Linked DNA regions of Homo sapiens: regions 2, 3, 4, 5, 6 and 7 are each linked to region 1. The links are contacts of gene promoters, found by promoter capture Hi-C in blood cells and fetal thymus (Javierre and others, 2016). All regions are on one chromosome and are shown on one strand. The core of a region is centred on a gene start or on the middle of the fragment in contact, and the rest is flanking DNA. Distances in the headings are between cores, read along the strand shown. Region 1 holds the start of IYD (iodotyrosine deiodinase). Region 2 overlaps PLEKHG1 (pleckstrin homology and RhoGEF domain containing G1). Region 3 has its middle 13 kb from the start of ULBP3. Region 4 holds the start of RAET1L (retinoic acid early transcript 1L). Region 5 overlaps PLEKHG1 (pleckstrin homology and RhoGEF domain containing G1). Region 6 overlaps PLEKHG1 (pleckstrin homology and RhoGEF domain containing G1). Region 7 overlaps PLEKHG1 (pleckstrin homology and RhoGEF domain containing G1).

What was found. The method cuts DNA at HindIII sites, captures the fragments that hold promoters and counts their contacts. A CHiCAGO score of 5 or more calls a contact.
Region 2: a fragment that was not itself captured here is called in contact with the fragment with the promoter of IYD in region 1 in 1 of 17 cell types (total B cells); the score reaches 6.5 in total B cells.
Region 3: a contact is called between a fragment that was not itself captured here and the fragment with the promoter of IYD in region 1, in 1 of 17 cell types (erythroblasts). The highest score is 5.4, in erythroblasts.
Region 4: the fragment with the promoter of RAET1L here is called in contact with the fragment with the promoter of IYD in region 1 in 3 of 17 cell types (M2 macrophages, M0 macrophages and naive B cells); the score reaches 6.6 in M2 macrophages.
Region 5: a contact is called between a fragment that was not itself captured here and the fragment with the promoter of IYD in region 1, in 8 of 17 cell types (naive B cells, total B cells, M1 macrophages and 5 more). The highest score is 10.6, in naive B cells.
Region 6: a contact is called between a fragment that was not itself captured here and the fragment with the promoter of IYD in region 1, in 1 of 17 cell types (naive B cells). The highest score is 5.1, in naive B cells.
Region 7: a contact is called between a fragment that was not itself captured here and the fragment with the promoter of IYD in region 1, in 4 of 17 cell types (naive B cells, total B cells, naive CD8 T cells and 1 more). The highest score is 5.9, in naive B cells.

What each region holds. Positions count from the first base shown.
Region 1 is chr6:150,367,496-150,370,446 of GRCh38, reverse strand. IYD (iodotyrosine deiodinase) reads right to left here and starts at 1,435. Exons shown (of 5, transcript NM_203395.3): 1 at 1,238-1,435. The coding sequence starts at 1,415. The HindIII fragment of the contact is 5,505 bases long and covers 410-2,951 here.
Region 2 is chr6:150,786,436-150,789,292 of GRCh38, reverse strand. PLEKHG1 (pleckstrin homology and RhoGEF domain containing G1) reads right to left here. Exons shown (of 17, transcript NM_001029884.3): 5 at 2,834-2,857. Among named protein-coding and RNA genes, the nearest start is that of MTHFD1L, 78 kb to the left of the region's middle. The HindIII fragment of the contact is 160 bases long and covers 1,272-1,431 here.
Region 3 is chr6:150,054,382-150,057,110 of GRCh38, reverse strand. No RefSeq gene overlaps it. Among named protein-coding and RNA genes, the nearest start is that of ULBP3, 13 kb to the left of the region's middle. The HindIII fragment of the contact is 7,426 bases long and covers 1-2,729 here.
Region 4 is chr6:150,023,826-150,026,882 of GRCh38, reverse strand. RAET1L (retinoic acid early transcript 1L) reads left to right here and starts at 1,351. Exons shown (of 5, transcript NM_130900.3): 1 at 1,351-1,496. The coding sequence starts at 1,412. The HindIII fragment of the contact is 10,027 bases long and covers 1-2,993 here.
Region 5 is chr6:150,832,400-150,835,261 of GRCh38, reverse strand. The region is part of intron 16 of PLEKHG1 (pleckstrin homology and RhoGEF domain containing G1); the gene reads right to left. Among named protein-coding and RNA genes, the nearest start is that of MTHFD1L, 32 kb to the left of the region's middle. The HindIII fragment of the contact is 3,331 bases long and covers 1-2,862 here.
Region 6 is chr6:150,753,280-150,756,457 of GRCh38, reverse strand. All of the region lies in intron 3 of PLEKHG1 (pleckstrin homology and RhoGEF domain containing G1), which reads right to left. Among named protein-coding and RNA genes, the nearest start is that of MTHFD1L, 110 kb to the left of the region's middle. RefSeq lists an enhancer at 2,896-3,178. The HindIII fragment of the contact is 5,969 bases long and covers 1-3,178 here.
Region 7 is chr6:150,813,843-150,816,998 of GRCh38, reverse strand. The region is part of intron 11 of PLEKHG1 (pleckstrin homology and RhoGEF domain containing G1); the gene reads right to left. Among named protein-coding and RNA genes, the nearest start is that of MTHFD1L, 50 kb to the left of the region's middle. RefSeq lists an enhancer at 3,150-3,156. The HindIII fragment of the contact is 3,010 bases long and covers 1-2,981 here.

The sequences.
Region 1 (2,951 bases), core at 186-2,685:
ACACACTCTCTCACAAACACACTCATGCGCACGCACACACACATTCATGCATGCACACACAAACTCATGCATGCTCACACACACTCATGCACACACGTGCACACTCACACGCACACTCACCCACTCGTGCACACACACTCATGCACACACACTCACACATGCACATTAATGAACACTCACATGCACGCGCACACACATCCACTCTCATGCACACACACACACGCACGCGCACACACACATGCACATTCATAAACACACACTCTCACACACATACACTCACACACACTCACATGTCCAGGTGGCCTCTGTTTGGGGATGGGGGCATCATTAGCCCAGCTGAAGATCACAGAGCCTCTTCCAAATCGAACCCATCCCAGACAAAGCTTCTCAAACACAGATGGCTCAAGCTTCCTCCACGCTCTCTCCCTTCCTACCTGCCTCCTTCATCACCTCTTCTTCTCAAGGTGGCCATAACCTTCCCGCCCTCAATTCTCTACTTCCATTCTTACCCTCTCCCTCCACCCTCAATTCTCCACTTCCTCTCTTACCCCTGCCCCAGGCCTCCAGGTGCTTCTGCTCCTTTGGCTCCTTGTTGCCTGACAGGCCTCCCAGCACTTGCTATTTGTACCCTATTCATCCTCCCAGCCTGGTTTGTCCTTTCCCTGACTGCACCGTCAAACTCCCAGGCCTACTCTAAACACCTTAGAATCAGTTCCACCGGGTCTGTCTCTTTGTTACTCTCTCTGATTCTAGTGTATCATCTTGGCAGCTGAACTGGACATTCAGTTTGTTGAGGACAGAGGCCATCCCAGGCTTTCACTTCCAGGGCCTGGCACAGGGAAAGGTAGCAGCCTCCTAGGTGATGCCACTTGGTAGATTTCAAAGTTCCTGATCAAAACCTGGCCTCTTAGTCCCTGCCCACTGCCAGCCTGGGATGAATTCCTGCAGAAAGATTTTAACAACCAGAACAGAATTGTAGCCAGGGAAAACTTCAGCCTCTCAACAGCTTTTTCACTGGGCATCAAAAATAAAAAAGGGTTGGTCCCAGCAGGTGACAAGCTCATCACTGGAGAGAGATGACCTGTCTGTGCCAAGCACTGATTCATTAGCACAATAGAGGTTGATGTTGAAGCTGGCCTGTGTGTGTTTCTTCCTCTCCATAAGCCCTGCCATTGACTCACACTCATCATCAACACAACACGACAGCGAAGCTAAGCAGCATAGCTGGTGTCTTTACCTTCTTCTGCTTGGTGCAGGTCACTGCTGTCTTTTAAGTCTTCATCCACCCAGGGGCGAGCTTCGGCCCTGGTTCTAGGCTCCCCCTTCTTTTTCTCCATGCTTCTGTCGGCATTTTTAAAGATCCACACAACCAAAATGCAGAGAATGGCTACCAAGATGGGAGTCAGGAAATACATGGTCTGGAGTCTGACGTCACAGGCGTGCACACTTCCCACACCGGTTTTTAAACACACAGAGACAGGAGTGGAGAATGCCGGGAGATAGAAGGAATGCAGACACAGGTGTGCCAGGGAAGGAACAAAGTGCAGAACTCTTCAACTCTGTGAGGACTTTGCAAAGGAGCAAAGATCACAGTCACATGTGTGGGGTGTTGTGGCTTTGGTTATACACCAGTCCATTAACTTTTTAAAAGTATGTACTCTGTCGATATATTCTTAGACAACAATTGCCAGAATCTGAGTAAGAACTTGCATGTGCTAGATCTAGCTAGATCACCTGAAGAACTTGTTTTTGTTTTTGTTTTTTTTAAATAGATTTCCACACACCAACTCAGATCTGCTGGAAGAAAATGTTCAGGAAAGAGGTTTGGCACCATGCATTTTAAATGGCATATTTGTGAAAACAGCCCTAGGGTTTTGATTTTTTTTTTATGATACCTGAGCCAATATATGGAGTAAAGAGAATATCATGTTTTGCATCAGAGAAAAACTTTGATCCAGGAAAAGTGACACAAAAAATTAAAGTGACAACTTGATTATGTAATTACTTCAGTAGGGCTTTTTATGTGTTAGTTTGTCTGTCTGTTTTAGAAAGTGCCTTAGTCAGTTATGGCTGAAATAACAAAAATACTATGGACCGGGTGGCTTAAACAATATAAATTTATTTCTCAGCCAGGTATGGTGGCTCATGCCTATAATCCCGGCACTTTGGGAGGCTGAGAGGGGCAGATCACTTGAGGTCAGGAGTTCGAGACCAGCCTGGCCAACATGATGAAACCCCATCTCTACTAAAAATACAAAAATTAGTTGGGCCTGGTGGTACATGCCTGCAAACACAGCTACTCAGGAGGCTGAGGCAGGAAAATAGCTCCACCCAGGAGGTGGAGGTTGCAGTGAGCCGAAATTGTGCCATTGCACTCCAGCCTGGGCGACAAGAGTGAAAGTTCCTCTAAAAAAAAAAAAAGAAAGAAAGAAGAAGAAGAAGAAAAAGAAAAGAAAAGAAAGAAAGAAAGAAAGAAAGAAAGAAAGAAAGAAAGAAAGAAAGAAAGAAATTTATTTATCATTTATTTATCATAGTTCTGGAGGTTGAGAAGTCCATAATTAAGGTGCTGGCAAATCAGCTCCTGGTGAGGGCTCCCCTCCTGGTTTGCCAACAGGTGCCTTCTTGCTGTAACCTCACACAGTGGATGGTGGAAACAGATCATCTCTATCATCTTTTTTCTTATAAGGCCACTAATCTCATTAATGAGGGCTCCACTCTCATCACCTGTTCACCTCCCAAAGGCCCAACCTCCAAATACCATTGTACTGGGGCTTAGGGCTCCAACACATGAATTTTGCCAAGACATATTCAGTCTTTAGCATCAAGGTGCAAACGTATGTATAACATGATGCCATTTGAATAAAACAGAGTGGAAAATATGATACATTTATACAAACTTATATATGTATTTCCTGGAAAAGCATACTCTAAGGAGCGGTTATATCAGGAAT
Region 2 (2,857 bases), core at 102-2,601, 420 kb before region 1:
TATATAAATCATAAGAAAAGATATTTCCTTCTAGTTCTTCAAATCTTTCAAATTGTAATCAGAGATGACATAGAAATGAGACATTTAATTATGAAAGAGCCAAAATATGATATAATCAGTGCTGACCAATCAAGCACCTAAGTCTCTCAAATATTTATTGAATAGGTAGCCACAGTAAAGCAATATGTATGATTTTAGGGTTTCTTCTGCCCCAGGGTCCTCCTCTCCCTCTCTGATTCCTGAGAAGTTTTCACTGGACACTACAAGAAAGACTTAATATGTAAACAGCATACGGGTAACTTTGACTTAAATTCACTCTAATCATATGACTATCCAATATCCACACTTCCTTGAGGATAATTTCAGTAAGTGGGTGGTACATGTGCATGCTTGTGTGTGTGCATGTGTGTGTGTGTATGCGTGTGTGTGTGCACACACACTCACTCCCTGGGCTCTAAAAGGAAGAAGGCACCAACAGAGAGAGAGCCACACAACGAGGGAGAGTAGGCAGCTAAGGGGAGGTTGAGGCTCTAAAGACAGACTTTGTCTCCCTCCTAAACGTTGCCCTGGGTCAGCCTTGCTGCCAGTCAAGATGAGAGGTGGATGTGAAGGTGGAGGTAAAGGCAGCAAAGTGAGCCATTCTAGGTGTTTCCAGAGACCTAAAACAGACAAATGTTTACTGGGAGAAGGTTTGGCCTGCCCAGCACGAAACTTTAATTTCTGTCCTTCAGGAGAACTGTGGGTTCATTCTTCCATGAGCATCAGGTAAAAAGCAACCATGTTCTCCATCTGTCGATAAGGACTTCTGTAACCTACACATACCACGACAGTAAGCAAGGTCAAAGATGAATCTCTGTGCAGGCCCCAGTGGTTCAGATAAAAGCAGAAGTCAACTGTCAGCTTCACCTCTTTCATTAACGGCCTCCCAATTAAAGCAATTTTCCATTCCTCCCTAGAGTTGAACAGCTGGTTGTGTTTCAGAAGACGTAACATCTTCTAAATGTCAGGCTGCTGAGTGAAAGGCAGGCAGTGCCTGAGCCCAGCACTCCCTCAGGATTCCCTGTTTCCATGCGAAAGTGCAGAGAGCTCAAGTCAGTCTTCTAATTAAACTTGGCAATATTACAATGAAAAGGAAGATTTGGGAGTTGGCAACGTGGCACATAAACAAACTTTTATGTGAATAATTAAGCGAGAGCTAAGCATACGCTGGAACATCTTTAATCAACTTGTGATTACAGTTACCAGTAAAAGCCCAAACGTTTCCGAAAGCTTCTACGTTGTTTATGTGCTGTGGTTATTCTAACATATCTCCTTTGATATACCCAGCATATCTTTTTAGCCATTTTGCCTTCTTTCATTTTTCTTCTTTTTTTCAAATCCCTGCTCAATTTTGACACAGGCAACTTGTGAAAAGGATTGTATGTGTAAGCTTACACACAGGTAAACGTGTGTGCACACTTTACATGTGAACACACACACACAAAGTCAGGAGAGCCCATGGATTGTGCCTTTACATATAAGCCCATGGATTGTGCCTTTAAGGAACTTTGCTCCAATAAAACCCAGGGTGTTGTGTTTGGAAGCCATCAGGATGCATCTGCCACCATCAGAAATGACCCTGTGGAACAGTCCAGAGCCAGGTCAGACTGGAGCGACATCTCCCAGTTCACACCGGACTCCGCGTGTGCTAATTCCCAGTGGGTCTCAAAGCGCCATCATGAACTTTTATTAAACCTTCGTGCATTTCAAACTACAAATGCAGAAACCACATGAAAGTTTGCTGCAAAACAATTTCTGCTAAAGGCTTTCCAAACAAAAGCGGTTGAATGTTTAAGAGAATTTAAACAAGACAGAAATCTCTATATACTAGGCAGCATGCTGAGAAAGCAATGTAGGAAAGGCCACATTGTAGGAAAGGGTAGGTTTCAGAATTCCATCACCTATTCCACTTCGGAGCACGAGCTCACTGTCATTTAAGCTTTGAAAGTCAAATCCTTTCCTTGTATTTTTCGAAACCACTGATGCAGCTTAAGAAAACAGTGGAAGAGTACATTTTTAAAATGTAGGAGATTAATTCTGCTTCTCTCTATCCCTCAAAAGAAAGATAATTATAGAGACTAGGCTAGTGCCACATATATTATACGTAAAATATTTAGATTCTCTTGGACTTTCACTAAAACTAAACTTTCACTAAACTAAACCAGTTCAGTGGTATTTTATATTTTTCTAACATTCATCTTCTTTTTTTTTTTTTTTTTTTTTGAGACAGAGTCTCACTCTTGTCACCCAGGCTGGAGTGCAATGGCGTTATCTTGGCTCCCACTGCAACCTCCGCCTCCTGGGCTCAAGTGATTCTCCTGCCTCAGCCACCCTAGTAGCTGGGATTACAGGCACACCACCACGCCTGGCTAATTTTTGTGTTTTTAGTAGAGACGGGGTTTCACCATGTTGGCCAGGCTGGTCTCAAACTCCTGACCTCAGATGATCCACTCACCTCGGCTTCCCAAAGTGCTGGGATTATAGGTGTGAGCCACCATGCCCGGCCCATTTTTCTAACATTCTTCTACTCCGGACTCTCCCCTCCCAAGCTTTAAGTTTTTCCCAGCAAAGAGTAACATTATTCAGTTACTGTACAAGTTCTAGAACAACTACTAGATTAGCATCTCCCTGGCTCCAGGAACAATACATTTTTGCTACTCAAACAAAGAAACCAGAGAAAGATTAGTGGCTAACTCTATCTGATATGAAACAAACCAGTCATTTTAACTTTAAAATGAAAAATTCTGTACTCTGTATCTGTCTCAGTTGGCCCAGAAGGATGAACCCTGCTTACCTTGGACACAAAACACTCTGCTAT
Region 3 (2,729 bases), core at 16-2,515, 310 kb after region 1:
CAAACCAAAGGTCCGGGAGAGAAAAGCAAATGCTAACTGTCTGTGACATTGAACTTCAAAGGGGCCTGTCACGTTATGTGGGTCATCCCAGCAACAATGAAGATATTTCTGTATCAGTCAGTCAGTAAATAATTATTGACAATGTGCTAGAAAGGTGGAGTGATTTGAGTAGATTTGCTCCCTATTCTCATAGAGATTACTTTCTAGAGGGGAAGACAGATGATGGATGAATAAATATAAATTATTCTATTACGTTGGTGCAGCAGTAATCTCGGTTTTTGCCATTAAAAGTAATGGCAATAAAAAGCAGGGAGGAGCCGGTGCTGCAGTTCATTAAAAGTAATGGCAAAAACTGTGATGACTTTGCACCAACCTGATAGAATAATTACGAGTGTGCAAAACACTGCAATGGGAAAGTTCCAAGAGCTAGAATCGCATCTAGCTTCCTGGAGTCAGGAGACAGGGGTTGGCAACCTAACCAAGGTTAAGTCCAAGTGATGGGGGCAGGCAGGGAGTGATATTTCAGTGGAGACTCCAAAGATAAATGGTAATTAGAAAAGTGAACCCAGACGATGAGAGAGGGAAGTGTTTCAGGCAGAGAGAATAGCGTGTGCAAAGGCCTATGTGGGGAGGATGTCGTGTGTTCATCGACCTGAGGGGTGCTCTGCAGGCTGGAACTGAGCAGGTTGAGAGGAGGATGGGGAGCCGGGGAAAGGCACCCCACGCAGAGGGCACAGCAGAGGCAGAGGCCCGGAGTCGGGCCTGAGCCTGTGTGGTTTGAAGAACTGACAGAGGCCTTTCTGGCAGGAAAGAGAGCAGGGCCGTGCTGGGCACTGTGGGCTGTGGATGGGAGCTGGCATTTATGCTCGAGTGATGGGAACGTGTTAGAAGATTTTAAGGAGGGCAGTAATATTTGGGGATAATGCGTATTCTGGGAATCTCAACAAACTAAATTCATAGTTTGAATGTTCATAAGACTTCTGCACAGGCAGAGAGAAATAAGATCATTTCTACAGCTGTGACATAAGATCATATTAAAAAATATTACTAAGTTTTTAAAGGTCATTTCAAATGGTGGATTTCTATCTTATATTTGAACACAAGTAGATTGCAAGGTTGGGGAAAGCAGAAAAGTTTCCTGACTTGTGTGAACATAAAAGAAATATCAATCTGAAAGCAAAACATTTATTCATTTACTTCCTCTGCAGTTTTCTTGACTGCTGAATTTCATAAGAAGGGATTGTTCATGAGGGTCATGGAGCTGGGGACCTGGGGAGGAGCTGGTGTTCTCCTAGTTTGAGGGTCGTGGAGCTGAAGACTCAGGGAGGAGCTGGTGCTGCTGTTCTAGTTTGAGTATCATGGAACTGGAGCACCGGGAAAGAACCCACTCATGTATTAGGGTAATAGATCTGGAGATCCGGATGGAGCTGGTGCTGCTGTTCTAGTTTGAGGGTTGAGGAGCTGGAGACCCAGGGAGGAGCTGATGCTACTGCTGTTCAAATCTGAGGGTAATGGAGCTGGAGCCTTGGGGAAGAGTGTTGCTGCCTTTCAGGTCTGAGAGTCATTGAACTGGGGCTCCAGGGAGGAGCTTGTGCTCCCGTTGTAGTTTGAGGGTCATAGAGCTGGAGACCCAGGGAGGAGCTGGTGATGCTGTTTTAGTTTGAGGGTTGTGGAGCTGAAGATCTAGGGAGGAGCTGATGCTGCTGTTCAAGTCTGAGGGTCCTGGAGCTGGAGGCCTGGGGAGGAGCTGGTGCTGTTGTTCTAGTTTGAGGGACATGGAGCTGGAAACCTGGGGAGGAGCCGGTGTTGATCTTCTTTGAGGGTCATGGAGCTGGAGATCCGAGGAGGAGCCGGTGTTGTTCTAGTTTGAGGGTCGTGGAGCCGGAGACCCGGGGAGGAGCTGGTACTGTTGTTCTGGTTTGAGTGTCGTGAAGCTGGAGACCTGGGGAGGAGCCAGTTTCGTTCTAATTTGGGAGTCGTGGAGCTGGAGACCCGGGGAGCAGTCGCTGTTTTTTTAGTTTGAGGGTCGTGAAGCTGCAGACCTAGGGAGGAGCGCTGTTGTTCTAGTTTAAGGATCGTGGAGCTGGAAACTCAGGGAGGAGCCGGTGTTGTTCTAGTTTTCAGGTCGTGGACCTGGAGACCTGGGGATGAGTGGTATTGTTCTTGTTTTAAGGTCATGGAGCTAGAGACCCAAGGAGGAGCCATTGTTTTTTTAGTTTTAGGGTCATGGAGCTGGAGACCCAAGGAGGAGCTGGTGTTGTTCCAGTTATAGAGTCGTGGAGCTGAAGACTCGAGGAGGAGCTTGTGTTGTACTAATTCGAACGTTGTGGAGCTGGAGATCCTGGGAGGAGCTGTGTTGCCCTTGTTTGAGGGTTGTGGAGCTACAGACCCAGGGAGGAGAAGTGTTGTTCTAGTTTGAGGATCATAGAGCTGGAGAACCAGGGAGGACCTGGTGTTGTTCTAGTTTGAGGATTGTGGAGCTGGAGACCTGGGGAGGAGCTGGTGCTGTTGTAGTGTGAGGTGCATGGAGTGGAGACCCAGAAATGAGCATTATTGTTTTAGTTTGAGAGTCATGGAGCTGGAGACCCAAGGAGGAGCTGGTGTTGCTGTTTAAATTTTAGTGTTATGGAACTGGAGAACCGGGGACGAGTTGGTGCTGCTGTTCTAGTGTGAGGGTCATGGAGCTGGAGACCTGGTGAGGAGCTGGTGCTTCTGTTGTTTAATTCAAA
Region 4 (3,057 bases), core at 102-2,601, 340 kb after region 1:
GATGCACCCACTGTGAACCCAGGTCTCAGGGAGCAGGAGGGTGTTCTGTATTGTGGGAACATGCAGGACACACATGGGAGGGGGTATTTGTGCCCGGCTTTGAAGGATGGCTGGCTCTTTGCCCAGGGGGAAGAGGCCAGCAGAATGCGCTGACAGTTGGGAACCACTAGGAACTTTCAGTTGAACCTGCTCTGCTGAGCCCCCTGTGCCATCGGTGGACCTGGGCCAGGGCGGCTGCTGAACTGGGAGCTCAGAGGTAATCTCTCTGAGGAGCTTTCTAAATCAGCAAGCGTGTCACAGGTTGAGATTCTAGGGATGAGGTCCTCAATGCTGTCCTCGATTTTAATGAGCAGCCTTTTGGCCAGTCTGCACTGGGTGAAGCAGAAGCAAGACATAAATTGTTAAGATAATTTTTAAAGCTGCTTAATTTTGGTAAAAACATAGAACATAGAATTTACCATCTTCACCAATTGTTTACTATACAATATGTTGTTTTGAACCTCTGAAACCCTACCTGCTGTTTCTGTAATAAAACCTAGCCCAGGCCGGGCACGCTGACTCATGCCTGTAATCCCAGCACTTTGGGAGGCCGAGGTGGGTGGATCACCTGAGGAAAGGAGTTTGAGACCAGCCTGGCCAACAAGGTGAAACCCCATCTCTACCAAAACTACAAACAATTCGCCGGGCTTGGTGGTGGGCACCCGTAATCCCAGCTACTCCAGAAGCTGAGGCAAGAGAATCGCTTGAACCCAGGAGACAAGGCTGCGGCGAGCCGACATCGGGCCGTTGCACTCCAGCCTGTGCAATAAGAGAGAAACCCCATCTCCAAATACATAAATAGATAAAGAAATAAAAAATAAAACCCAGCCCGGACTGTAACCACGCCCACCGGGGACTGGGGAAGTAGTGGAGGGGACGCGAACAGGCCCATGGCTGTGCCCAGGGCGGGGTGAGCCAGGGACCCCGCGGCGCAAGCGGAAGGAGGGAGAGTGCCGCGGACCCAGGCGGGGACAAGGAGACGCCGAGGCCGCTGAATATTCCTCTGCACGTTTCTTCACCATTAATAAAAAATGCTATAATGATTAAATGAGTCTGTCGTGGAAGGAATCGTGTCCTGGCAGGAGTGGGGCCCGGGCACGAGGCCACCAAGCTGCCGGAGCGGGTGAAGAAGGGAAGGGACACTAGCATGGAAACTGGATTTCGTCCAGACAATGAAACGAAGAGGTGGAACGCGCCCAGTGACTACGCCCAGTAGCATTAAAATCTGGCTTTTCAGAATCGAGGTGACTCATTCCCCGGTACATTCCCCAGTAACTAACAGTATATAAGCCAGCCTTTCAGCACAGAGGTGATTTCATCTTCCAGGATCCACCTTGATTAAATCTCTTGTCCCCAGCCCTCCTGGTCCCCAATGGCAGCAGCCGCCATCCCAGCTTTGCTTCTGTGCCTCCCGCTTCTGTTCCTGCTGTTCGGCTGGTCCCGGGCTAGGCGAGACGGTGAGCTGGTGGATGGAGCCTAAGCGGGGCGGGGGCCAAACCTGAGGGACTGTGGACTGCAGCGGGTTTCAGAGGAGGGAAGGCTTCTGGAAGGACAAGGGAGATCTCCCCGAACTGCGCCCCCAGCTCAGTTCCCCTCCTGGGCTCCTTCCCGCCGGGTCCACTCCCCAAGGCTGTTCTTGCCCCAGTAGGGGCGAAAAAGAGCAGGGTGAAAACGAGGCTGGCAGGAGGGTGGAGGGGCCAGAGGGCTGCGAGGGCTAGGTGGGGCCCGGATTCCTAGTGCAGCCCGGCAGTCCCACCCGCCTTTCGGAAGGAGAAACCAGAGCCCCCCCGGGAACAGAGCTGGGGTCAGGACTGGGTGAAGGGGGGTACCACAGGGATACAATCACAGACGCCCCCACCAGCCACAAGCCTGCTCTGCTCTCACCTGCTCTCTACCACACAAACCCTCCAGCACCCCCAGGACTCCCTGCCTTTGTTTTCCCCGCACTTTTCCTGTAGACACTCACCTGCACCCAGGGGCTCAGCAGATACCCGCCACCCCTCCCCTCACCATCCACTGCCACCACCCAGGTCACATCCTCTTACTGCCCACCTCAGCCCAGCTGGTCACCCCTGAGGTCTCCCCATCCATGAAGGGTACCTCACCACCTCCTACACCACGTCGCACCTTCTGCCTCTTGCCTGAGGACACACCCCAACAAACACACCCCAAGCTCCCCTCAGAACCTGTGCAGGGGGGATGGGAAGCACCATTTCCTCCAGGATGACCCTGGGAACTCTGGTGAGTAGAGGCACCCACTTCTGCCCTTGGGGCCCAGACCGCCTGTTCTTCCTACGGGGGTGTCAGCGTCATAGAGAATAGTCACTGTGTAGACAGGGGTCAGCAAACCCTTTCTAGAAAGGGAGGAAGGATGCCCTGTGATCTTTGCAGGCCATGGGTTCTCCGTCTCTGTGTCCAGTCCTGTCCCTTTGTAGAGCAACAGCAGGCAATGGCAACCTTCAAAGAGGGGGGACCAGATTTGGACCCTGTCCTAGGTTGCTGATCCCAGATCAGGGGATTACAGTGTCCCAGTGCCCCATCCCCTAGGGTGTCATCTCCAAGTGATGTCTCTGATGTCAGTTGGAAAGTAGAAGGTGGCCCTACCTTGCCTGTGGCTTCTGGGTGGTGTGGATGTGATGGGAGTGGGGGTCCCATAGTTGGGGGCTTATTCTCCCCTCCTTTGTGCTGAGTGGCATCCATGGGGACCATCAGGTACCCTCCCTGAAGCCTCAGGTGTGAGCTGAGGGTGAGTGGGTGCAGCCACGTGGTGTCCTGGGGATCAGGTCCAACTGCTTGTGCAACTTCTTGGTTCCCGGTGGCCCTGCTCCTGCCCATCCCAGAAGAACCACCTGCATCTTCTCACTGCTGGGCCTATCTTCCTAATGACCTAGAGGGCGAGGAGCCCACCAGTAATGGGCAGCTCTGAGGCCTTCAGGAATAGGCATCCCTAAGCTTCATTCCATTCTGGTGCCTTGTCATGGGGCCTTCTTTATATGCATGGCAAAAGGCCCCATCTCT
Region 5 (2,862 bases), core at 36-2,535, 460 kb before region 1:
CTCTCAAAGACTATCAGGAGGAAGGTCTGATGGAACAAGATGGCCAGCATGCTATGACAGGCTCTAAGATATGGGAGCAACTGGACCTGGTTGGGTGATTTATAGGCAGAAATCTGACCCAGGGCCTGGAGACCCCGGCTAGAGAGTTCAATAAAGATGCTCGAGAGTTTCGGCAGGTGAATAAGGTGCTCCTCCTTCCGCACAGCACCGAGAGCAAGCTCCTGGCAAAGCGGCAAGGCCCACACGGAGAAGTCTGGAGAATCGGTCCATTCGATTACGACGTCCTGTGCCCAGATAAACAAGAAAGAGAAAAGGAGTCATCATGTCAACTGACGGAAAGCCTAGTGGGCACAGGAAGTGGTCTCGATCACCCAGCTGGACGAGGTGTGGATATAACTCATCAGGTCCTAGGGACGTGCCTCTGCCAGATGGCAGGGAAGACAGCACTCTCAGAAGATGACTCGGGAGAGATTTCCTCCTCCTTGCTGGGGAGAACGTCGACAGGAGCCCACCATGTCAAGAAAGGACCCAGACGCAAAGCTGAGAAAAGATCCTGGGGCATCCCAAGACAACACCAGCAGGCAAAACAAAAAGGAGAGCCAACCAAAAGTGAAAAGAAAACCCCAATGTGAAATCATTTAATACTTAAAAAGGTGGGTAAAAAAGAAGACTACTCGAGGTAGTCGTAGGCCCTAATGATTCAGTATCAAAGGACATGCTTCTGTCAAGATTGGAGCTTTGTATTTTAACAGATGGTCCATATTCAAAACAACCTGGCCCAGGGAATTACTACTTTTTCAGTGGTAGTCTGTGGGCATAACCCATCATCATCAAAAACTTCAGCATTACATTTCCTCTTATGCTGAGGAGCCCCAACCCAGACTTAGTCAGTGCTTGCAATTGCCAATATACAACTGTTTCTAAGGCCATATATATTCCCCTACCCCACCAAAATTGTCCTCCTGCAGCGGGAACTCAGTCACTTTCCCTGTAACAGCAAACCAGCTTAGCAACGCTAGCATCAGAATAGGGACTTGAATTACTCATAGTGCATCATGGCAAGGAGAAAAATACATGCATTCTAGTCTCACATGCATACAAAACCTTCATTTGATTAAAAAGAAGAACTCAGAGTCTGTGAAATCCTTCAGGCATCAATTCCAGCACTTTGTTTCCCTATCTGTTAAGAAATTGTACTGAAGATTAAAACTTTAGACAATTCTTAAATACTCTCAAACTTAAAAAAAAAAGTTCCCTACAGATTCTTGTTATGTAACTTGTGCATTCATTTAAGATTTGGATATGCCCTTCCTATTCTTCAGTTTCCATGGATGTCAATGTCAATCCCAAAGACAGCATTTAATAGTTAGTGGCATCAACCTGTCCCAATGTGCTGATAATGAAGCTAATGATCAGAGCCTGTCCTGATACTAAGCCATCACCCAGCTTTCACTTTTAATTGTAGAATAGACTCCTCTCATTTGATACTAAGGTGGTCCTTGGTTAGAAAATCTGGGGCAGGATTTCTTAAAATATGATGAAAAGGGCATACTATTTGAAAGGCATATTCCTGAGCCTATAGCCAGAAATCTCTCTGTGCCTGGAGGTAAAAGCTCCTCAGGCAAGAGCCACTACCTTTGGACTTTTCTTTCTATGACAATCAGGGGCTTTATTCACAGCTAGGCTCTTCCCCAGAGATCAGTGTTAAATTTTGGCCTTCAAAAAAAGTCTAACCATGAGCATCTCATTCCCATAGTCCTGATCCTACAATATCACACCTAAGATTCTGGTTTGGTTGTGCTCCACAAAGGAGTCTAACTAAAGCATTAAACTCAGAAGCATATATGAAAATACTAAATGAGATAGTGTTGAATGCATTACAGCAGCTATTTTAAAAAATTGAGCAGTAGGCCAGGTGTGGCGGCTCACGCCTGTAATCCTAGCACTTTGGGAGGCCAAGGTGGGAGAGTCACTTGAGCCCAGGAGTTTGAGAGCAGCCTGGGCAACACGGTAAAATCCCATCTCTACAAAAAAACCACACACACAAAAAAATTAGCGGGGCGTGGTGGTACACACCTGTAGTCCCAGCTACTAGAGAGGCTGAGGTGGGAGGATCACCTGAGCCCAGGAGGCAGAGGCTGCAGTAAGCCATGTTCATGCTACTGCACTCCTGCCTGGGTGACAGAGCCAGACCCTATCTCAAAAAAAAAAAAAAAAATTGAGTAGTAATGGAGATATGTGAGAAAACCATTGATTTATAGTGCGAGCAACTAAGGAAAGTACAATGGCTGGCGTGGTGGCTCACACCTGTAATCCCAGCCCTTTGGGAGGCTGAGGCAAGAGGATTGCTTGAGCCCAGGAGTCGAGACCAGCCTGGGCAACATGGTGAAACCCCTTCTCTACAAAAAATGTAAAAAGTAGCTGGGCATGGTGGTTAGTGCCTCTGGTCCCACCTCAGGAGGCTGAGGTGGGAGGACTGCTTGAGCCTGGGGAGGCTGAGGCTGCAGTGAGCTGTGATTGTGTCACTGTACTCCAGCCTGGGTGACAGTGAGATCCTGTCTCAAAAAAAAAAAAAAAAAAGTATGCAAAAAAACCCCTCTTTTTGTTAGCACGAGTTGGCATTTTTGTTGAGATCCTGAAGCCAGAAACAATGTTATTCTATATGCTTCCAAACCTCAGAAGATCATACACACTCCTCCTCCTCCTAAAAAATTACTGATATACTGGAAAAGTTGGAGATAGCACAGGTTAAAACTGATTGCGTTTTTCATACTTCAGATCACCTTAGAGAAAACTCTTTCTTAAAATATTATCTCTGCAGTTACGATGTTACATGCACACCACCACCCTCTGAGGCCAAAT
Region 6 (3,178 bases), core at 586-3,085, 390 kb before region 1:
GGAAACTCATGGCTAAGTTATTCCGCTCATTGTATCAAAAACAATGAGGAGCCCTTAGGATATATCTGATTGTCTCGCTGACTATATTGCTGTTGATCTCATCACAGAAGAATCTTAACCAAAAGTTATGTATTGATCCAGAAACAGTCACAGGCTTGAGGATCTGCAGGGGAGCAGGCAGAGGCACCGTGCAGATGGAGCTGGAGGGTGTCTGCAAGGTGCGTGGGCCAAAGTGATGGGATGTTCCCCAGAAACTTGACTTTCTCAAAGAGCATGGGGCCAGGGGGTAAACACGAAGATGTCCTTCTGTCATACTGTCCAGGAGGCCTGGTCCTAATTCATGCCCCACAGGGTGAAAAAGGTGATGTGGGGAAAATTTTCTTCCCTCTTTAACCTAAGAGAGTGGACTCTTACGGACGAGGTTTCCATAAGTGATTTTTCAAGAGATATGAATTTCCACAGCAGCAATTTTATAATCTGAACAGAAGTGCCCTCTGCTTTTTCTTGTAGTAAATGCAGCTTCTATCTACCACAAGATGGAAAAAAATAAATTTTTTTAAATTAAAAATTAAATCTTTAATAAAAACATTAAATTTACTGTCCTGGGAAAGTAAATTTGCTTTCCCAGGACGGATTTATCTGAGGACAGGGTAAGGCACTGCCGGATGCAACATGAAGGCCTCAGCCGCAGGGCTGGCTCCCGATGTAGCGAGGTGGGAAACACATCGGCCTCAAGGTCAGGCAGTCTGGGTCTAGGACTCAGGCCCTGGGCGAGTTACTTCCTTGCTGAGGCTCCGTAGCTTCAGCGTGAAGCAGAAAGAATACAACCACCAGTGTCTCCTCATCATTCCAGGGGTTAAACTGCACACATGGTCCATTCAAGGCAGCTCAGCACACATGTGCAGGTGTTGGTGCCTGCTGTGTGGCCGTCTAGGTCCCAGGTTCCTTCCCAGAGCAGCAAGGTAGGTCAGATTGGAGCCTTTTTGGGTTCAAAAGTAAATGAACTCTATATGCTGATAAATCATAATAAAGAATTATCCCCCCACCATTCTCTGCCACTGGCAATACCAGTGCCGTAGGAAGGCTAATTTACTTAAGCAGCTTATTACTAACCATCAACGTTGGCAGAGAGTCTGAAGATTATTGTCAGGGGAGACCTGTGCATAAAAAGTCCTGGATGCCGGCCAGGCGCGGTGGCTCATGCCTATAGTCCTAGCACTTTGGGAGGCCTAGGCGGAAGGATTGTTTGAGGCCAGGAGTTCAAAGCCAGTCTGGGCAACAAAGTGAGACCTGTCTCCACAAAAAAATTAAAAAACTAGCCAGGCGTGGTGCCATGTATCTGTAGTCCCAGCTACTTGGGAAACTAGGGCGGGAGGGTTGCTTGAGCCCAGGAGATCAAGGCTGCAGCGAGGTATGATCACGCCACAGGACTACAGCCTGGGTAACAGAGCGAGATCCTATCTCAAAAAAACAAAAAGTCCTGATGCCGGCCAGGCACAGTGGCTCATGCCTGTAATCTCAGCACTTTGGGAGGCCAAGGCAGGTGGATCACCTGAGGTCGGGAGTTTGAGACTAGCCCGACCAGCACAGAGAAATCCTGTCTCTACTAATAATACAAAAAATTAGCCGGGTGTGGTGGTGCATGCCTGTAATCCCAGCTACATTGGAGGCTGAGGCAGGAGAACTGCTTGAACCCTGGAGGCAGAGGTTGCGGTGAGCCAAGATTGTGCCATTGCCCTCCAGCCTGGGCAATGACAGTGAAACTCGATCTCAAAAAAAAAAAAAAAAGAAAGAAAGTCCTAATGCCATCTAAAAGTTTCCAAGACCCTTGCCCTCTTGCTGTGACCACCCAAACAACAAATCCCGCCTCTCCTCTCCCACCTATATCTTTTTTGAAACTGACTTGTCCTCTCTCTCATCGCTGCCTTGACCTTGTTCTCATCTCTCACCTGGACTACTGCAAGGACATCCTAACCCAGCTCTCTACTGTGGGTCTGATTCCCCACAACTTTTCAAACCTATCTAACATGATTTTCTAAAACGCAAATTTGATGTCATGCCTCCTGGGTAAAATCCTTCAAGGACTCTTAAATCCCTCCCGACCTTCCTGGGCTCATCTTTGACCACTGTCTTGCTCCCCCTCAACTCCCTCACCTCTACCAACACAGGCACTCACTCACTGCTCTTTCAGGAATGTCCCTGTTCCCTGCCCTCTCATGTCGTTTTATTATTGTCTATTCTTTTCTCACTGCCAGTATTGGCTGTCCTGCTCATCACCACCTGGCTCATTCATCCTTCAAGATTCTTCCCAGGAATCCTCCTCTGACCCTTCCTGTCCCCTGTCTGGGTCAGGTATTCTAAGTCTTTAAGCACAGGGTCATCATCATGTAGTGCTATAAAAATATCTTTGTCATTCCTTCTCTCCCTGAAACTGGTATCAACAGTTAGTAGGCACTGTGCTTTAGTGTTCCCAGCACCTAATGAGTGTAGACTCTGCAACCTCATGGAGTGAATTCCCAGAAATGAGCAATGTGCAGAGCACAGGAAGGCAAGGGTTAACGGTGCCCCCGCTGCTCCCTCTCTAGCTAAGAGGCGAGGGCTGTACAGAATCTTGACCCAGCCCAACATTCCTCCCTTGCTCCCAGCCTTTGTCGCAGGGGCAGCATTTTTTTACAACACCACCTCTTGAAGATGACAAAGGTCCCTAAACTATGCATTTCGTTTTTAACTCTCTTCCCACCCACCTCACTCCCGCTTTGCACAAGAAACGCTTCTCTAATCAAAAGTAGATTAACTCTCACCCTTTTCTCTCTGTGCATTTGCATTTGGAACAGCATTTACGAGGCCATAAACAGACCCCTGGGTTGAGTAATTTATCCACTGCTTTATGGAAAATCAGACAAAAGCAGCAGTCTTTTCAGCAGTTGTGTATTTATGGTCGGCAGCTGCTGGGCGGCCAGCTCGGCAGGTCCCCTCCTTACGAGGCACCCACTTCGGGCTTTCTGAAAGGTTAAGGGCATCACCGTAAGCCCCATTATGAAACTGAAGGGACACTTGTAACATTTCTTGTGGATCCAAAGAGATAAAGGCTTTTTTCAAAAGAAAATATTTTAAAGTATAAAGGGATGGCTCCCCCTGCCTCTCCCAACACACACACACCCACCCCACAATGTCCTTC
Region 7 (3,156 bases), core at 227-2,726, 450 kb before region 1:
CTCGCATTACAGCCTGAGCTCTGCCTCCTATCAGATCAGTGGCAGCATTAGATACTCATAGGAGTGTGAACCCTACTGTGAATTATGCATGCGAGGGATCTAGGTTGCAGCACTCCTTGTGAGAATCTAATGCCTGATGATCTGAAGTGGAGCTGAGGCAGTGATGCTAGCACTGAGGAGCAGATTAACGTTAGCAGAGAGGTTTGACTGCACAGAGACCATAATAAATCAATTGCTTGCAGATTCATATCAAAACCCTGTCAGTGAGTGTCAAGGAGCAATTAAGCTGCATCTGGTGGCAGGCTTTATCGTGGCAAGTGAGTTGATGTACTTCAATTGTACAGCTGCATCTGGTGGCCTTAAAAGTATGTTTGAGGCCGGGCGTGGTATCTCACGCCTATGATCTCAGCACTTTGAGAGGCTGAGGCGGGCAGATCACGAGGTCAGGAGTTCAAGACCAGCCTGACCAACACGGTGAAACCGTCTCTACTAAAAATACAAAAATTAGCTGTGCGTGGTGGTGTGTGCCTGACATCCCAGCTACTCAGGAGGCTGAGGCAGGAGAATTGCTTGAACCTGGGAAGGCAGAGGTTGCAGCACCACTGCACTCCAGCCTAGGCAACAGAATGAGACTCCATCTCAAAAAAAAAAAAAAAAAAAAAAAAAAAAAAAGTATGTTTGAGACAACTTCAAACCTCCTTACATTCTGGATTAAAGTCCAGGCGAATATCCTGAGATTGCCACAAAAGCACAAAAGCCTGCTTCCATTTCCAACATCCTATCTTTGTGAAGCAGGGTTTTCTGCAGTGACAGTGACCAAAATAAGATGAGAGCAGACTGGACATAAGCAACACACTTGGGGTGTCGCTGTCTCCCATCACCCCCAGATGGGACTGTCTAGTTGCTCAGGGCTAGAACAAGCTCAGGGCTCCCACTGATTCCACATTATGGTGAGCTGTAGAACGATTTCATTATATATTACCATGTAGTAATAGAAATAAAGTGCACAATAAACGTAATGTGCTTTCATCATCCCAAAAGCCTCCCCCTGCCTCCATCCGTGGAAAAATTATCTTCCACAAAACCAATCCCTGGTGCCCAAAAGGTTGAAGACCACTGTCCTAGGGGATTGTAGCCTTTCTTGCCTCTTTAAAGTTATTTTCATTTTTTAAGGGTAGTATAATTTAACCTACAAAACACTATGCTAAAAATAACTTTTAAAATAATTTTACTCTATTTTGCTACCATCTGTGATATCCCAGTACAAATATTTCGGCTAAGTGGCGATCACGTTTAGTGAAAAAGTGTGGGGCTTGGGGGAGCCTCAACACAGTCACCTTAGAGAAAACAAATGCTTCAATTTTTGTAACCTGATAGCTATCTCTCTCATACATTCAGAGTTTGAGATTATGAGTTGAAATTACTTGCAAACACAAATGTTAGCTCAGTCTCTCTCTGGGAAGTGCAATTACAGAAACATACTAATATATAAAATGCAAAATACCTTCACCTTTATTTTCAATTAATTTGGAGAAGAGTTAAATTTATTTACCACATATACTAATGGGCAATATGGCTATTTCCAAGAAGTTCCCTGGTATCTGTAAAGCTGACTTCAAGAATTTTTTTTTGTCTGGACATTTAATTTTTAAAGTACTGTTTCCAGGATTTCCACTAGGTGTCAGCCAAGGACCATCATTGAATTAAAAGAACGGAAGGCAGCTGGGAGGCTGTAACTAATGAGTTTCCCACAGCTGTGTTGACATTATTAGACTGGTGATACATTTCTTGATGTTTAAAATTTCCCACTATGCATTCATTTCACAGAAATAATAGAAATACATTTTGAAAACTTTAGGAAAATAAGAAATAATCTCGAGGAAAGATGTGGAAAGTTCACTTTAATGATAATCCTGCTTAAATAGAAAATTATGATTACATTATAGTGAATAAAGTATATTAGACAAGCGTGTTTGAGGCTGGGTGTGGTGGCTTGTGCCTGTAATCCTAGCACTTTGGGAGAGGCTGAGGCAGGTGGATCACTTGAGGCCGGGAGTTCGAGACCAGCCTGGCCAACATGGTGAAACCTCATCTCTACTAAAAATACAAAAATTAGCCAGGTGTGGTGGTGTGCGCCTGTAGTCCCAGCTACTCGGGTGGCTGAGGCACAAGAATACTTGAACCCAGAAGGTGGAGGTGGCAGTGTGCTTTTTCTTGTATGGAGATTGCACCACTGCACTCCAGCCTGGGTGACAGAGTGAGACGCTGTTTCAAAACAAAACAAAACAAAAAAAGGTGTTTTTATTGCCAGTGGGAATAATGTGGTTAGGATGCTCTTTGGAGCCAGATAGACCAATCCAGGCTTGGTCATGTACTAGTTATATAAACTTGGGCAGTTTATTTAATGTCTCTCAGCCTCTGTTTTTATTTTTTCTAGAATGGGAAGAATAAGAACTACCTCATAACATATTTTGGTGAGGGTGAAATAAGAATATAAAGTACTCAGCACAGTGTGTATGCTCAATAAGTTGTAACTGAAAAGATGTTTTTAGATAGAAAGGATCGACAACTTGGGGAGAAAGTACGATGTTATATTGACTATATTAACCATTTGAATACTTAAAGGGAACTTCCTGAGGCACACACGCCTAGCGTGGGAGAAAGACAGGTATGTAAGGGGGTCTCATTTTGTAACTGCCTTTCAGAATCTTGTTAGCAATTTTGATTTTCCCAGCAGACAGGTAAACAATGGGTGGGGCCCATCAAAGATACTCTGCCATTGCTCAGAAGGGCATTCTAAGGCACCAGGCCAGCAACAAAATGACTAATCATAAAGAAAATGCAGTCCCCTCTCTGCATGAGCTCCCTTTCATCTCATAACACCCTGACGAAATGAAAACTCATGCTTAGGTCCAAGTCCACACCTATGCACATTCATTTCCTGAGGACCAAATCATTGCTGGCAGTCCTGAGAACAAGCTTCAAATGCTTGTCAAAATATACAGAGAACAAAACAGACTGTCCCCTTTCTCAGAAATCTCAGCCCTTATTTTCCACCCAGTTCAATTTTCATGATCATCATCCCATTGTCTGCTCCACCTCACTCCTCCCAGCCCCAACTTGGACTGTTTCACCATCCATGTGAATAATCCACCC